Linked DNA regions of Homo sapiens: region 2 is linked to region 1. The links are contacts of gene promoters, found by promoter capture Hi-C in blood cells and fetal thymus (Javierre and others, 2016). All regions are on one chromosome and are shown on one strand. The core of a region is centred on a gene start or on the middle of the fragment in contact, and the rest is flanking DNA. Distances in the headings are between cores, read along the strand shown.

Evidence for each region. The method cuts DNA at HindIII sites, captures the fragments that hold promoters and counts their contacts. A CHiCAGO score of 5 or more calls a contact.
Region 2: a contact is called between a fragment that was not itself captured here and the fragment with the promoter of STX17 in region 1, in 1 of 17 cell types (non-activated CD4 T cells). The highest score is 5.1, in non-activated CD4 T cells.

Annotation. Positions count from the first base shown.
Region 1 is chr9:99,904,928-99,908,330 of GRCh38, forward strand. It overlaps STX17 (syntaxin 17), which reads left to right and starts at 1,727. Exons shown (of 8, transcript NM_017919.3): 1 at 1,727-1,779. STX17-DT (STX17 divergent transcript) reads right to left here and starts at 1,674. Exons shown (of 3, transcript NR_038853.1): 1 at 1,627-1,674. RefSeq lists a silencer at 1,466-1,865 and an enhancer at 2,026-2,265. The HindIII fragment of the contact is 1,410 bases long and covers 558-1,967 here.
Region 2 is chr9:98,804,497-98,807,811 of GRCh38, forward strand. GALNT12 (polypeptide N-acetylgalactosaminyltransferase 12) reads left to right here and starts at 3,174. Exons shown (of 10, transcript NM_024642.5): 1 at 3,174-3,315. The coding sequence starts at 3,203. LOC124902229 (a long non-coding RNA gene) reads right to left here and starts at 3,084. Exons shown (of 2, transcript XR_007061689.1): 1 at 2,275-3,084. RefSeq lists silencers at 3,056-3,145, 3,246-3,315. The HindIII fragment of the contact is 202 bases long and covers 1,941-2,142 here.

The sequences.
Region 1 (3,403 bases), core at 477-2,976:
AAATGTCGGCCAGTAGTAGCAGGCCTGCCCCTAACAACTTGATGACCTAGAGTACACAAAAGAGGTCCACACACCATATGTTTGAATATTTAAAGATTATAAATCAAGCTAACCAACAGTTAGATTAAAAGGTTTTGGTCGGGCATGGTGGCTCACACCTGTAATCCCAGTACTTTGGGAGGCCGAGGCGGGCGGATCACGAGGTCAGGAGATCAAGACCATCCTGGCTAACATGGTGAAACTCTGTCTCTATTAAAAATACAAAAAATTAGCCGGGCATGTTGGCACACGCCTGTAGTCCCAGCTACTCAGGAGGCTGACACAGGATAATCGCTTGAATCTGGGAGGTGGAGGTTGCAGTGAGCTGAGATCATGCCACTGCACTCCAGCCTGGGCGAAAGAGCAAGACTCTGTCTAAAAAAAAAAAAAAAAAAAAAATGTTTATCCTACTACTTTGACACACCTAACTTACAGCAAACATACATATAACAACTTAGAAGTCCAGGTCCAAATTTAGAATCTTTGAGTACCACACCTCCTGATTTTGTACCTGAGGAAGCTTTTTCAGAACTTAACACAAATGATCTTTTATTTCAAAAGATCTTATTTCACTGATCCTTGCATAAAAAACATTTTCTCACAGTATTGCCTAATACTTTAATTTTTCTCCTTAGAATCAAAATTTGATAAATACATTCTGGAGCTCATTGTAAAACAAATATCAGTATACATTATGTCCCCAAAGAAAATCCAAATTGCTTGGTAGATTTGGTGCTTTGTTTTAGAAATTGTCTTTCAAGGCTTTTTAAAGGATCTACAGGCCCCTAATCTTCCCTGTTTACCTCCTACTCTACTGGAAGACCCTAAGAACTCAGTTTCCTTAACTGTGGTTTGAACATCCTGATCACTTCTGAGACAATGCCATTAGTGAATACATTCTAAGCACGTCATCTGAATATTCACAGACATCTTTTTAAAAGGGCTGGATCTGGAAGTTAGGCCATGAAGAGAGGAGGACCTGTGACTTGGACAAGGCTTCAAAGCCGGCCACCTGCTTGTTCATGTGGTTGCAGCTGGTCTAACTGGAATAACTTGGGAAGGAAATTAGGACACCCAGTTGGAGTTCCAGCTCTGCCATAAGCTGGCTGAACTGGAGTGAGTCACTTAAAACTCTTTGTTAAACCCCAGAGTCATAATCTATAAAATCGGGATAAAGACGTTTGCCTTAAGCCCTCCACCAGTTTTTGGAGGAAACCACAATTTGCTGAGCTTTAATTTTTACACCTGTTGCAATTAAGATGGCACTCCTGCCCTGTCCACTTCACAGGGCTTTTGGGGACGGGATGGGGAGGCACCACCTTTCTGAGCTTCAGTTTCAAAACAGAGCTAAGAATACATGCCCAACCCGCAAATAAAATTCTAGGAAGAACAGAGGAAAACGGACAGGAAAACTGCGAAATGCAGTCGGCCATACAAGCATGAATTGTCTTAAACACAACAAGCAGACCTAAAGAGCGTTTGTGCGTCTCTCTCCTCTTGGCTCGAGTCACAACCCCATAACGTAAATCAATATCACTTTTGAAAAAGGCTTTCGCTGTTCTCAGCAGCGTCCGCATTTGTACTCACCTGTGCGCCCCCAGCGCCCGGCCTGGGGGCCCTGCGGGGCGGGGGCGGGGGCGGGGGCGGGGCCCAACCCTGCCCACCCCTCGTGATGCCCCGCCCCGTCGCTCCTGCGCCTGCGCCGTGCCCACCGACCGGCCTCGAGCGCCCCGGCGGGAGGTAAGGGGCTCTCTGGAGGCCGCCTTTGGGGGCGTCGGGCCCTCACAGGCTTGGTGGGCCTGGCGCCCGTGTGGCGCGCGCAAGAGGCGCTGGGCGGCAAGTAGGGCATTGGATCCGAAGTGCGAGCGCCATGGTGGCTCCTCCTGTTTTTCAGAAGTGGCGGAGCCTCGCTTGGTTTCGTTTTTGGAAGCTTTATTGGAAGCTGGTATAGGGAGGCCGCAGACGATGCGAGCAGGACGGCCTCCCGGGGTCGCGGGGTGGAAAAGTTTCCGGCGCGCGTCCTGTCTCTGGCGCGCTGTAGGCCCCGGGTCGCCAGGGTCGCTGGCGTCTGGGTCCCGGGACAGACCCGCGCATCCGTTCGCTGGTGGGGGCGTTTGGTGTGTGTGGCCCAGGTGTGCTGTGGGTGACACTGCGAGGAATGACGCGACGCTCGATGGTAGTGAGGCTCGGAGGACTGGGAGCGAGAGGCCGGAAGCCCCTGCTCGCCAAACCCAGAGGTGGTTGGCAGAAGGTCCCACACCTTGGCTCCCTCCTTTTAGCTAACCGAGGTTCAGAGAGGAGACTTTACTTTGACTTTTCTCTCCAAATTCGGTATCTCTTCCATAAGTCAGAAACATTAAGCGGCGGGCCGGAAGAAATCGGGCGCCACTAGTATCCTGAAAAGTGGGAGCTCTGGGCCGATGGAAGGTGTTCGTCACTTTTGGGGGCTGGGTTTCCTGAGAAATGGGGTCTTTCACTTATTAATAACCTCCTAAGTAACTTACTGGGAAACATGAGTATTATGGTACCCATCTCATATTAGTTGTAAGCACTACATGATAAAGTTTGTAAAGCACCTGGCACAGTCCTGGCACCCCTCTCTCCAAGTATTAATGCAGTGAATACGATGGCAGTTCTTTGACTTCTAAATGTTTTTACCTGTCTTACGTGAAACATCCTCTTATACTAAAAAACTTTTTTATTTTGAAATAATTTTAAAATTACAGAAAAGTTTCAAAAGTAATACAGAGTTCCCTATTGCCTCCATTAATAATTTTTTACATACCATAGCGCAATTATCAAAAGCAAGAAGTTAATATTAGTATAATACTATTAACTGAATTACTAACTTGTGATTTTTTTTCCTGTATTAATGTCCTTTTTCTATTCTAGGATCCACTCTAAGACCCGACATTGCAGTTAGTTGTCTTGGGTCCTTGGTCTCCTCCAGTCTGTGACAGTTCCTCTGTCTTTTCCTGTCTTTACACTGATAGTCTTTTTCTGTCTTTATACTCTTTCTGATCTTTACACTTTTGAAGAATGCTGGTCAGTTATTTTGTAGAGTGCCCCTCAAATGGGGTTTGTCCAGTGTTCTCTCATGATTAGATTAAGGTTATACATTTTTGTTAAGAACACAAAAGTGTGTGTGCCCTTCTCAGTTCATCATATGAGCATAGCTGATATATATGACTTATTGCTCGTGAGGTTAATCTTGATCACTTGGTAGAGAGTGTCTGCTGGGATTCTCCAATGTAAAGGTCTTATTTTTCTCCTTATAATTGACATCTTGGGGGGGAGCTTTTAAACCGTACGCATATCCTGTTTCTCCTCAGACTTTCCCTTGCTAAATTTCACATCCATTGGT
Region 2 (3,315 bases), core at 792-3,291, 1.1 Mb before region 1:
TTTGCCAGTCTGATAGGTGAAAAAATATTTCAGGGTAGGTTTATTTTGTATGTATTTTAGAGAGATCGAGCATATTTTCATACTTTTATAAACTATTTATATCCTTTTGGGTGGGAACTGTCTATTTAAATCCTTTGACCATTTTTATTTCTGTTTGTTCTCTTTATTTCCCTATTGATTCACATACTGGGTAAATGTCATCTGCAAATATCTCTTTCTGACTTGCCTTTTGTTTCTGGACTTTGTATTATACTGGAAGCCTTACAGAATTCAAAATTTTTATATAGTCACATTTAGAAATATTTTCCATATGGTCTCTGGTTTTTCTCATTCAATACTTTTATAATTAAATTCCTTCCCTTCCCTTCCTTCCTTCCTTCCTTTTTTTGCTTATTTACTGTGGCATCTTCAGATCATTTGGAATTTATTTTGATGTAAAGTGTGATGTTGGGACTTGATTTGAATTTTTTCCAAATGGTTATCAAGTTGTCCCAATTATTACTTGAATTAGGCACATGTTCCCCACTAATATTTGAAATACCACATCTACCATAGATCATATTAAACTCTAAAAGGAATGTAATAACTCCTATGAAGAGAGCTAATATGACAAATTAAAAGCATCTTCTAGAGATATCTACTTGTTGGTGAGCAGCCGATGACATAACATGGTACTGTTAGTGAACAGATAAGCCCCCTAAAAATAGCAATAAACCCAAGGGCTTTACCTCTGTTGAAAAGATGCTAGATTTCCAACAAGCTCCCAGGTGGTACCAATGCTTCTGGTCTAAATATCATACTTCACTCAGCAAGGTGCTGGACATCTTCCCTTTGCCTTACTGACACTCTCTCCACTCTGTTTTGTGCCCCGGGAGGCTGACTGTGCAGACTGTATCACTCAATCTTCTCAACAACCCTGTTCAGGTGGTGCTATCATTAGATCACCATTTAATAGATGAGCAAATTGAGCCGAGATAAGTAAAGCAACTTGCCTGAGGTCACACTGCAATTCGTGATGGGGCTGGGTTGAGCTCAGGCAAGTGGGCTCCAAGGTTGTGTTCCGACCTCCTAAGCTAAGCTGCCTTTGCATCTCATTGCAGCCTGCCCAACAGTGAGTGGTGTGGTGGGAAATCCTGGACTGTGAGTCAGGAGACCCAGATACAAATCCTCCCTCTACCGCTTGCATGTTGTGTAACCTTGGGCAAGTTGCTTCACTTCTTGAGCCTACATATTCTCATCTGTCAACCTTGCAAGGTTGTCATAGGGTGAAATGAGAAAGTACATGAAAAAGAAAGTCCAGCAGTTTACAGCACACAGTGTGTGCTCAGTAAACAATAGCTTTTATCTGTTACCTGGGGCTTAAGTCCATGTCTTGTAAGGCCTAATTGCATTTCTCTTTTCTCTGTATCTGAACCTCTATTGAGAAGCATTCCAATTTGGCAAGCGGATCCAAGACATTATGAATTGTAATCCTTGTCTGTTTTCTAATCTGACCGCAGATCTTAAATGTGTTGGGTGTCTGAACAGAGGCCAAAGGGCTCAGGTCCAGACCTACCTAACACAACCGCCTTCTGGCATTAACCAGCAGCCTCCATTCTGCGTGGGAAGCAGGCGGGGCCCTGAGCACTGTGGGAAGAGCCACTTCCCTCTAGTCTAATATTAGCAGCAGGTTGTCCTGAGTGGGAGCTGCTTTGCATGGTTCATCCCAAAACCCACCCCCCTCCTGCAACCTGAGGGAGATTTCCTCTGGGGATACCAGTAGCCAAAGGCTGTATGAAGACAACAGCAAGTCAGATTCTACCTCTACCTGAGCCGCCAAGTTCAAGGTCCTCTCCCCACCCTGTGTCTCAGACCCCGCATTTATCAATGAGATAATTGGACCAGATTTGTGCTTTTTAAACTTTCTGGGCTTCTGGTCTCCTTGAGAATATTTGATAAAAAGCTTTGGACCAACTTCCCATGGTAAAACAAACAACAACAAATAGAGCTTACACTCTATCCTTCTACAGGGGATACAGAATGATTCTTTTCCCTGAGCTAGACACCAGCAGAGGGAGTTCCAGATTAATTTAAGATATGATTTGAAATCTCTGCTATCACTTTTACATTCAGATATCTGTGTAGACATTACTTCATCAGAGAAGCTTTCCAAAACCCCCAAACTAGATCAAGTTCTACTATTCTAAGCCCTTTTAGCGCCCTGTAATTCTTCTTCAAAATACTTAACACAATTCTAATTATCTTTTTAATATTTGTCTACTCCATTAGACTTACTTCGTCCCTGGCAGCTCAAGGCTCCCACAGCAGTGATCTCATGAACAGGGCGGCAGCTTCATGGCCTTTTTTGGTTGTTGTTTAATAGAAACAGGATCTCGCTTTGTCATCCAGGCTGCAGCGCAGTGGCGCATAGTTCACGGTAACCTCCAATTCCTGGGCTCACACAATCCTCCTGCTTCAGCATCCTGAGTAGCTGGCACTATAGGCACGTGCCACCATGCATGGCTAATTCTGAAATTTTTCTGTAGAGATGGGAGTCTTGCTATGTTGACCAGTCTCGTTTTAAGCTCCTGGCTTCAAGTGATCCTCCTATCTCGGCCTGGGATTACAGGTGTGAACTATCATGTACAGCCTTCATGGCCTTTTGCTCCTAGCCTCAGAGGTCACAGAGCTATCACGAGGCGAGCCAGGCGAGGGTTTGCTATTCAAGGACTCCAAAGAGTATGGCAGAGGCTGGGCCTGCAGAAGTCAGTGGGGCAGCGTGGTGTCTGTTGATCTCATCGCACCTCCATCTCCTCATCTGTAAAAGGGAGCTCGTAATCCTAGTTGATGGTTGTTTTATTGGACTGTGTAAAGATCAGATGAGATAATGGCAGTAGAATTCATAACACCCTGCAGGGTGTATTCAGCCAACACTTAGCGCCTACAATATGCCAGGCGCTAAGGGTTTTACCACCACTATCTCTTTAATAATGCACCATAGCCCAAGAAGGAAGATGCAAGTCTCAGCCAGCCCACTTGAAGACCCTGCCGAAATGAGCCACCCCGGGGGCTGCGCTTGGGCTGGCGCGGGGCTGGACGGAAAGGGGGCGGCGCGCAGGTGGGGCGGGCCGGGGGCGGGGCGGCACGGCGGTTCCGGGATCCGGGTCCTGGCCTCCACCGCCGCCTTGGGGCGCGCAGATCGCTGGCTGCAGTTGGCGGGCGCATGTGGGGGCGCACGGCGCGGCGGCGCTGCCCGCGGGAACTGCGGCGCGGCCGGGAGGCGCTGTTGGTGCTCCTGGCGCTACTGGCGTTGGCCGGGCTGGGCTCGGTGCTGCG